Linked DNA regions of Homo sapiens: region 1 is linked to region 2. Evidence: promoter capture Hi-C in 16 types of primary human blood cells and fetal thymus (Javierre and others, 2016). All regions are on one chromosome and are shown on one strand. Each heading gives the region's core, a stretch centred on a gene start or on the middle of the fragment in contact. The rest is flanking DNA. Distances are from core to core; before and after follow the strand shown.

What was found. The method cuts DNA at HindIII sites, captures the fragments that hold promoters and counts their contacts. A CHiCAGO score of 5 or more calls a contact.
Region 1: a contact is called between a fragment that was not itself captured here and the fragment with the promoter of AGO3 in region 2, in 1 of 17 cell types (monocytes). The highest score is 5.0, in monocytes.

The regions. Positions count from the first base shown.
Region 1 is chr1:36,279,101-36,284,187 of GRCh38, reverse strand. It overlaps THRAP3 (thyroid hormone receptor associated protein 3), which reads right to left. Exons shown (of 12, transcript NM_005119.4): 3 at 1,488-1,655. The coding sequence starts at 1,624. Among named protein-coding and RNA genes, the nearest start is that of SH3D21, 25 kb to the left of the region's middle. The HindIII fragment of the contact is 1,739 bases long and covers 1,078-2,816 here.
Region 2 is chr1:35,929,746-35,935,005 of GRCh38, reverse strand. AGO3 (argonaute RISC catalytic component 3) reads right to left here and starts at 3,901. Exons shown (of 19, transcript NM_024852.4): 1 at 3,561-3,901. The coding sequence starts at 3,579. It overlaps AGO1 (argonaute RISC component 1), which reads right to left. Exons shown (of 19, transcript NM_012199.5): 19 at 4,474-5,260. RefSeq lists enhancers at 2,714-3,236, 3,237-3,761, 3,762-4,285 and silencers at 3,399-3,738, 3,749-4,258. The HindIII fragment of the contact is 14,155 bases long and covers 1-5,260 here.

The sequences.
Region 1 (5,087 bases), core at 698-3,197, 350 kb before region 2:
TACTTCAGAGTTGGTTAACATTTTTCAATTCAATTTTGTCTCTCAGTTTTGGTTGCATAGCCTCTTGGTGTTGAACCAATTATTTAGTTTCTTCTAGTTACTAGATTAAATTTTAAAAAGGTATCTTTCATAACCAAATGAGCTAAAACTGAGGTTTAAACTCCCTAAATCAAGATTCTGGGTACAGGGTAGGAGTTACTAAGAGTCTTGCTGGTCCCATGGCTTTAAAAGCAATTTCCTGAGGTAAATAAATTTAGGGTTTCCCTTTTCAATATTTATGCATACCTGCTTTTTCAGGCTGGCTTCTCATAGACTCCATTTAATATCTACCTTGTTTTTGTTAAATGGTAAAAAAACAAAACTACTAATCCTTTGTTTAATAGACCCCTTAGAAGTACTATAGGGCTCTGGAAATCATCAAGAGTAAAAGTTTAATCACTGACTTCTGAGGTTTATTTTAAATGTCGTAATCAATTCATCTAAGACAAGGATTCTAGATACTCATCTGAAATAAACAGCTAATCAATTCATCTAAGACAAGGATTCTAGATACTCATCTGAAATAAACAGCAGGGGTTCCAAGTGTCAAACATGACAAATCATCTCCTTGCTAATGTACTTGTGGGAAAAAGAATGAAAATGTACAAAGATTCCTCTTCAGCACACCAATTTAAATACACCAATATTTCCCAAACTCACATATAGAAACTTGTTATTTACTGAAAGCTTCTTATCTATCCACAAAAGAAAGTTTAAACACTTTTAAAGAATGAAAAATCCAACTCACAACACACCAAGAGAGGAAAGACGCTGGAGGTTTGGCATCCTATTCCAAGACATAATTAAAATAGGGAAATCCACCTGAAGGTGTGAAAACTGACTGAATTAGGAAATACTGGCAATAAATTCAAAAGAACTGTGCTCATATTCAGTAAGATAAAGTGATGTTTTCAATAGCGATTTTTAAAAAGTTTTAAGATACATTTACTAAACAGATGCAGCTTGTTAGTAATTGGCACATTGTATACAAATTACTCCTGATAAGTTTCTGTAAGTTTATTTTAGTGAGTTGAAGCTTCTTTTCCTTGCCATGTTGTTCATATTATTAATCCTCTTAGCTATCCTTTCTTTGCAGTGATGCACATAAACTTTGGTTCAAGCCTTCAAAAATAATTTGGTGAAAAATAATCAGCTATAGAGATTTGAAGCAAGCAGCTCAAATAAAAATAAAATGTTCTTTCTTCCAAAGTGGGTGGGAAATACTATGTGCTGGCAGAGGAAAGGAATCAGGCAATCAGCATGGCAGTCAAAGCTGATCTGGATTTGTAGTTTAAAGAGACCTGGAATATCTTATAGCCCAACCCTGCACCTCAAGCCAACCCCCCAGTCCATTTGACACTCACAGGAAAAGTCTAACAAAAGATCTTCAAACATCCACATCGACTGATGCAATGATTATCTCAATATACAAAGTCACACCCCCTTACCTCAGCCTGCGCTTCCTTGAACGAGAGAGAGATCGGCTTCGGGACCGAGACTTCGAAAATGAACGAGAACGAGATCTTGATGCAGATCTTGAGCGAGAAGAGCGAGATCCAGACTTGGATTTGTTTGTTTTTGACATCTCTGAAGAGAGGATCACTTTTCAATTACACCTAATGTAAGAAAATGCATTAGAACAAATGAGTGAGTTCCTTTGCAAATGTGAACCTCTTTGGACATTTTAGAAACACATTTCTTTTAATCTGGGCAACTTGAGAAGACCCCATATCTACAAAAAAAAAAAAAAAATTTTTTTTTAATTAGCCAGTCACAGTGGTGCGTTCCTGTAGTCCTAGCTATTTGAGAGGCTAAGACAGGAGGGAGTGCAAAGTTACAGTGAGCTGTGATCACACCTCTGCACTGCAGCTCTGGAGGAAAGAGCAATACCCTATCTCCAAAAAAAAAAAAAAGAGAGAAAGTGGCTGAGCACGGTGGCTCACGCCTGTAATCCCAGTGCACTGGGAGGCCAAGGTAGGAGGAGGACTGCTTAAGTCCAGGTGTTCAAGACTAGCCTGGGCAACATAGCAATATCCCGTGTCTACAAAGTTAAAAAAAAAATTTTTTTTTTCTTGAGATAGGAGTTTTGCTTTTGTTGCCCAGGCTAGAGTGCAATGGCTTAATCTCAGCTCACCACAACCTCCGCCTCCCGGGTTCAAGCAATTCTCCTGCCTCAGCCTCCCAAGTAGCTGGGATTACAAGCATGGGCCACCATGCCCGGCTAATTTTTTTGTATTTTTAGTAGAGACAGGGTTTCTCCTTGTTGGTAAGGCTGGTCTCGAACTCCCGACCTCAGGTAATCTGCCCGGCTCGGCCTCCCAAAGTGCTGGGATTACAGGCGTGAGCCACCGTGCCTGGCCTACAAAGTAAAAACTTTTAAAATTAGCTGGATGTAGTGGTAAGGGCCTGTAGTCCTAGCTACTCCAGAGGCTAAGGTGGGAATGGCCTGAGGCCAGGATTTTGAGACCAGCCTAAGCAACATAGGAAGATTCCCCCACCTCTACAAAAAAAACAACTGTTTAAATAAAATAAACTTTAAAAACAGAAAGTAACATTAAAAAAAAAAAAAAGATGAAATGACTGATTTTTAAAAACCACTCTGCTCTTTCATCAAAAGGAATTTCTTAGTAGTACAAATCCCAAACAGACCAAGCCACAGCAGCAAATGGAAAACCTGACATGTAACCCTAACTGGGTAATACTGTAAGAGATGACCAAGAATGAGGGTGCTTATTAATTTTGGTGCATGCAGTCTTTTCTCAGTAAGCAAAGAAGCTTTGAGACTAAAGTCAGCTGTTAATAAAAGTAATGAGGAGATGTGAGACAGGTTTCCTAGTTCCAAGAGAAGAAACCGCATGCAATTTAACTTAGTTACAGAGTATGTGGCACATCTAGTCATAAAGAACCATCAATTTGTTCCAGCTCTTTATTACAAAAGAGTCAGCTGGGGGCGGTGGCTCACGCCTGTAATCCCAGCACTTTGGGAGGCTGAGGTGGGCTGATCACCTGAGATCAGGAGTTCAAGACCAGCGTGGCCAACATGGTGAAACCCCATCTCTACTAAAAGTAGTGGCGGGTGCCTGTAATCCCAGCTACTCAGGAAGCTGAGACAGGAGAATCTCTCGAACCCAGGAGGCAGAGGTTACAGCGAGCCAAGATCGCGCCATTGCACTCCAGCCTGGACGACAAGAGCAAAACTCCGTCTCAAAAAAAAAAATAAATAAAAATAAAGAGTCAACTTTCTTTCAGGGTCATTTTCCCACCAAGAAACAAATAGTCTTTTTCCTTTTTTCCCCCTCCAGGAAAGAAGAGCGCCTCTAAGTTGCCCTGAGAGGTTAACGCCTGGTCTACAAGGTATACTTCTCTCCTTTATACTCTATTAGCGCCTTGGACATCTTCCCAGCAGTAAAAACTTTAAGTGCTAAAGTACATGTCTATCAAAGACAGTAAGAGTAAGGAATCTATCAAAGATCACAAAGCTAATTAATAGCCAAACCAGGCCCAAACTCCAGGGCCTATTCTATCACACTTTGCTGCCTAGCGAGATTCTGCCAAGTAATGCTGCCTCTTGTCTGTGAAGGGAAAATAATAATCAAATATTTCTCCCCTCCTACCCCTCAGAATTTGAAGATCTCAGCTCAAAAGCTATCTCCTCAGAGGTTCACCCTGACCACCCAGTCAAAAATAGCCACCAGTCATTCTCTAGGTCCAGTATGTATCTTATTTGTTTCTTCAGAGCAAAACTCAGTATGTGAAACTATCTTGTTTACTTGTTATTCTGTCTTTAATTAGAATGTAAGCTCTATAACAACAGAAACCTCATCTTTCTTTATTTAGTGCTGTATACCCAACGCCCAGAATAGCAAATGCTTAACCAGTGTTTTTATTAATTCATTTTATCCTTGAGGAGGGCATTTTTAATCCCGTTTTACAGATAAGAATTTTGAGGCATAGAGAAAGTAATTAACTTGCCCAAGGTCATACTGCCAAAATCCAAACCACGATCGACTTGCTCATTCATTAATTCATTCAGATGGGGTCTCCCTGTGTTGCCCAGGCTGGTCTCAAACTTCTAAGATCAATGGATCCTCCTGCCCTGGCCTCCCAAAGTGCTAGGATTACATGCGTGAGCCACCCCGCCCAGCCTCACCGTTGGCACATTTAACCACTATGTTATATTGCCTGTCTAGAGCAGTGTCTGGCATACAAGGGGTACTAACGAACTTATGGAACCAATGAATGCCAAGTGTCCACCCTTACCAAGTTTACAATCTGATAAAGGTGACAAGATATAGATAAACTGAAAGGTAGTATTTATTTTTGTTATATTCAAATAAAATACTTGAATTTCAAGAACTTTCCAAAAGACAAAAAACGCCTAGGAAGCTGCTATAGCTCCATCTCACAGGGGAAACAAGCAAAATCTTAGAGACATAATTTAGAGGAGAACTGAGAAACTAATAAGAAGTCAGAGACAAAAGGTGATGAGTAAAAGACTGCTAGATGAGGATGCCAAGAACCCACGGTTTTAATCCTGCCAAAAAGATCACACTGTTGCAAGCTCTAGCAAGGTCAAAGATATTTCAATTTGGAGCTATTTTTGGCAGTAGTGTCACTATATGAAGTCAGAATAAAGGAGTAAGTTATTCAGGAGTGGGAGGTGGAGGTATAAACAAACAATTTACAATGAGAATATTAAAAATAAAAATACATTTTGTTTTTTTGGTTGTTCTTAAGCATTATTTTGGGGTTCTCTGGGTTCACTCTTGCCAAATGGAGACCTTTATTTCTGTCACAAGTTCAGGGATATCTATCTATGTCTGCCTAGTAACAGACTGTCTAACATTCTATTTTAACTTGGGTCAGAAATAAAAATCCATCCAGATGACTTACACAACAGGTGGATATTATCAGACTTTAAAAGAATAAAAAAGGGCAACAAGTTAGTGGAAAAGGAAACACTCATTTCAACACTCAGAAACTAGAAAACTAAGAAGCTAATTTTCATTAAGATGAAGAAAAGCTGCCATGTAAATACAAACAGAGCC
Region 2 (5,260 bases), core at 2,652-5,151:
TTGATTTTTTTTCTTCAAGGCAAAGAACTACAAGTGAGAAAATTTATATAACGACAAAAACATTTCTCAAAGTTATTAAAGAAGATTGTTTTCTGGGAGGCCGAGGCAGGCAGATCACCTGAGGTCAGGAGTTCAAGACCAGCCTGGCCAACATGGTGAAACCCCGTCTCTACTAAAAATACAAAAAATTAGCCAGGCATGGTGGTGCGCGCCTGTAATCCCATCTACTCGGGAGGCTGAGACAAGAGAATCACTTGAACCCAGGAGGCAGAGGCTGCAGTGAGCCAATATCATGCCACTGCACTCCAGCCTAGGCGACAGAGCAAGCAAGACTCCATCTCAAAAAAAATAAATAAATAAAAAGAAGATTGTTTTAAATACTAAATTGGGACCCTGATGGCATTACATATTTTAGTAGGTATTTTTGACCCATAATTTTTATCTACATCATTCAAATCCCAATCTTGATTTAGTTCTAGCTTCCCATATATGCAACTTTTATTCCTTTGGAACTTGGTTCCAAATAACTTTTCTAAAACTTTTATTATTAAATAAACACAGAACTCTAAAACAACTATTTTCAGACATGAATTTAAAAGTGTAAATAAGAAAGAAACAGTCTATTCACTTTTGCAAGACTGTATAAAACTTCCACCAAACATCAAACAATTTGCATGTCATTAATTTAAGGTAAAAGTAAATGTTTTTCTTCCATTATAAAGTGTAGTTCCTCTGTCCTAAACGGTAGTCTAACATTACCTGAAAACATAGACTAGAATAGTATGGACCTAAAAAATGAGTACTCAGGAGAAGTAACATCATCAAGCATTTCTGCAGCTCCCTATTCCCACTTTATTTAGAACTGAAACATAACCTATACTCTTAGTTCAGCAGTAATTAGACCATAAAAAACGGTGTTTCATCAGATGTTCCCCAACTAAAGAGTCACAGACACAGATGTTAAACTGTTGATTAATTTTTAACTAATTTCACCTTTTTTTTTGTTAAATCAAAGTTCTGATGGTACTAAATCAGTAGATTGCACAAGATATCCTTAAAAAGCATTTAAAATATTTCATATGAAAGAACAAATACTAACTTATATGGTATTTGTGTTCGAGGTTCCCTAATGTAAACAAATTTAACAGTTTTCTGTGTATCCACCGAGCAACTAGAATTTAAAATATCCTATCACAAGATGATTCCTGAGAATCTCCACAAAAAAGAAAAACTTATGGCAGAATTGGAAAGCCAAGATTCAATACTGAGTCAATAGACTTTTTGAGAACATTTATACTAAAATTTTAAAATCAAAATACGTGTCAAATGATGATTTTTTTTTTTTTTTTTTTTTTTTTTTTTTTTGAGACAGGGTCTTGCTCCGTCACCCAGGCTGGAGTTAGTGGCGCGATCATAGCTCACTGCAATCTCTGCCTTCTGGGCTCAATCCATTCTCCTGCCTCAGCCTCCCAAGTAGCTAGGACTGGAGACATGTGCCACAATTCTCGGCTAAGTTTTCTGTTTTTTGTAGAGGCAGGTCTCACTATGTTACCTAGGCTGGTCTCCAACTGCTGGGCTCAAGCGATCATCCTTCCTCAGCCTCCCAAAGTGCTGAGATTACAGGCATGAACCACCACACCCAGCCTAAATTATGGATTTAAAATTTAGTTGCACAGCTATGCTTTCAACTTAAAGCTAAGCATACCAATTATATACAAGTCTCAGGAATAATGAAAATTTTGTTTCTGATGACAATCTTGAGCCAAAGTATAGCTTATCTTCATTATTAGGCTACATTCAATCATGTATAAACTGTACTGAAGAAAAAACTTTACTTTTCAAGAGACCCAGGCATATAGTTGATAATCTAACTACACACTTCCCCAAATGTGAAGACAGCTAAATGGGTATCCATTTCAGCAATGGGACACCCAAAAAAGAAGAGGTAAAATGTATTTTCTGAGCTGTACTTGGCTTAGTTGTACCAGTTGACTAGGTGGTTTGATGTAACAAATGTTTTCTAAGACATTTCCCATATATATGGGCACAATATCATATGAAAAACCCTAAGGAGAAAAAGAAAAAACTTTAAAAACTTTTTTGAAATATCTTTAAAAGTTTTGGGATGATTAATAAAGGGTCTGACCTTCATGACTTGTTTTCCAGACTTGACAACAGGACAGTTATGTACAAAGATCACCTATGGTCCCAAATAATCACATCTCCTGTACAGTAAAACAGTAGTATGGTAATTTTTTTAAAAGGGCAGGACAGTTTCAGAAATACACAAATCAAAACTGAATAAGAGTCGAAATCTTTTCACAATCCAGACAGACCTTTTAAGACGATATGGGGGAAAGCGAAACAATGGAGCAGGAAAAAGAGATATGGTCTAAATTGATTAGAGAAACTTCCATGTAACAAAATTTGTAAAAAAAAAAAAAAAAAATTTGTAACTCTCTCCCCATCTCATCTCCCCAGTTTGAGTGCTTTTTTGCAACCATTTGACACGTAATCTATTCAACAAAGTTCTTAGCTATCGTTATGTCACTGGTTTCTTTTACGTAAGTTTTTCTTATATCAAATTGGCAAAAAGAGATATGGAATTCAGGAACTTGTAACACCATTAGTAACAAGACAGCCCCGCAAATATTTTGAAAATTAATTTACGAACTTGTGATCGTCTGAAGCATACTTTCAAATTTAATAAGCCAAGCATGATCATTTGTTAGGCAAACCGTTATGCAACACCTTTCTGTCCCTGAATTAATTACTTTAGAACCATAAACAATACTTTTCCTTTTTTAAGGACAAGTACTATCCATGTTGCAATTTTCTCTTAAGACTGCAAAACTGCTGCTCTTGCCCCCAGAGATAAAGCAGTTTTCTTAAATTCCAAATTTCCAGGAATATGACAACTACTTCTCTAAGGAATAGAGAATGAAAAAAAATATACTGTCAGCAATTTTAAGAACCACCTCCTCGTATAAGCAGGGATCCAGGCTGCTATGACATTTCCAAGCTCCTCAGAAACTATCTACCATGCTGCCACAAACAACAGAAAAGAACTCGAGGGTAGGAGCAATGCCATGTTGAATTTAACGTTGCACCAACACCTCCTTCGAACTTAATCTGAAGTTATCCGTTATCTCAGCCTATCTTCACAACTATCCTAAGAGGTAGGTAAGGGAGCTGGCTGGCTGCCCAGCCTCTACGGAACACACAACCTGGCTAAAGGACACGCACTCCAACTAGACAATGGCAAACCATTCTAAAGTCTAGAAGAAGGGTACTCCAGCAAAGAGTAATGCCGCCTAGATAACCCCAAACTTAAATCCTCCAAGCGTTTCCCCGCCTCGCAGTTTCGCCGACTCAGGGGCCCCCGGGGAACTGGGGCTGGGCTGCGGGGAGGTCGCGGAGGAGCAGGGCGAGGGGCGGGAGACCGAGCGATGCCCGCCCGACGCTCACCTCGCGCACCTGGGCCGGGCGGGAGGAGCAGGGATGCTCAGAGGACAGTAGCTGGGTGACATCCCCTACCTGGCCCAGCTACTCTGACTCACCTGCGGAGCCGATTTCCATTCATGGAGCTGGGGGGAGTGCTTCGAGGGAGAACGGAGCCCGCCACTGGCGGCAAGGAGGCGGCCCGGGGGGCGACGCGGCGCGACGCGACGGGCACTCTCACTCGGCCCCGAGGCGGGGGCGGCGACGGCTTCCCCTGAGCAACCGCACTCCGAAAGCTCTGGGCCGGAAGAGTCGCGGACGGAAAACGGCACAGGACTAGGCGAGAGGAAGGGGAGATGTGAGGCGCGGACAGAGGGGAGTCCCGTCCGGAAGTTGCATCGCCCGCGGCCGCCGACGCTCCCACCGCTCCTCCACGACTGCGGGCCGCCGCCGCCGACCTGCCCGGGGCCGCCCCGGAAGCTCGCCGGCGTCAGTTCCGCTGCCTGGCTTGCCCGGCGTCCTCGCCTCGCCTCTGGGCCCCGAGCCGTGCCGGAGCGACGTCGGGGCAGGAGCGGCCGGCGCGGAGGACGCCGGGGAGGTGTCCGGGAGCCGGGCCACATGCGGCGGGCTCGGCCGTACCCCGCCGGGCCGTGCCGGCCGGAGACAACGCGGAGGGGCAGGACTACTCGCGCCGCACGAGTGGGGGCGGTGCCTGTCTGCGACGACGTCGCGGCTGGCGGCGGGGCTTACCTGAGGAGTAGCCTACCTGGAGCCGGCGGGTGAAGGACCCCGAACTGCCGCGGAGGCCCCGAGCCGAGCCCGCTGGGGTAGGGCCACCCTCCTTCCTGAGCCCCCGCCACGCCCAGTCCGATCCACCCCACGCGCCGCCTCCTCACAGGCGGTCAAGTGACCACCGCAATTGACCTAAGTCCTAGGCTGCTTTAACGACCATTTTTAGGAAAAAAAAAATGTATTATAGTTTGGAAAAGATGACTAACAAACAGGACACTACACAAACATCAGATCGAGTAATTTCCATGTTTAAAACTCTTTAATAGCGCCTCGTCACACTTGAAAACCCAAACTCCTTTCCAGGGTGAAAACGCACGGCGTAAATGGGCCCCGCCTGTGCTACAGCTATACTGGTTGGCTTCCAATTCTCCCAACGGGCCAACCGCTGCTTTTTTCTGACTTGGAGCTTCTCTGCTTTTGGTTCCCTTGGCCAGGAACCCTCTCTCTCTTCTCCACCCTCCCCTTACGCCCTACCCCACAGCTTTTTTTTGCGTCTCAACGAAAGACATCTGAGACGCCTTTTCCGGACCACCCATCTATGGTGGGGCACCTGTTAGTCTACTACAGTATTGCCTTGGTAGCCCTTTGCCCAGTCTGTTATTTATTTACTACTTGTGTGCCCCCCACCTCACTTGAATGTCAGGCAAATATTAGGTCCTTAATAAATATTTGTTGCCTTAATGAAACATACTATTTTATTCAGGCTGAGGAATCATTCATAATTTCTCCCCATGTCCCTATGCTTCAGTAATACGGTTTTTTTTAATCAAAATAATTTTTTAAAGAGGAAAAGGAGAAAGAATATCCTATCTTCAGTTCCCCTCACTGTGGGACTTTGGATCAGTCACTTGATCTCTCTGGGCTTCAATTTTCTTATCTGAAAAATTGAGAGAACAGCATGTACCTTACACAGTTTGTAAGGTTAGGTAATATACATAAAGCACAGAGAAAATCCTCCCCAAATGTTAGTGAATAACACAAGTATTTACTATTTACCATTTTAAAGTACTTACCATATAATATTAAA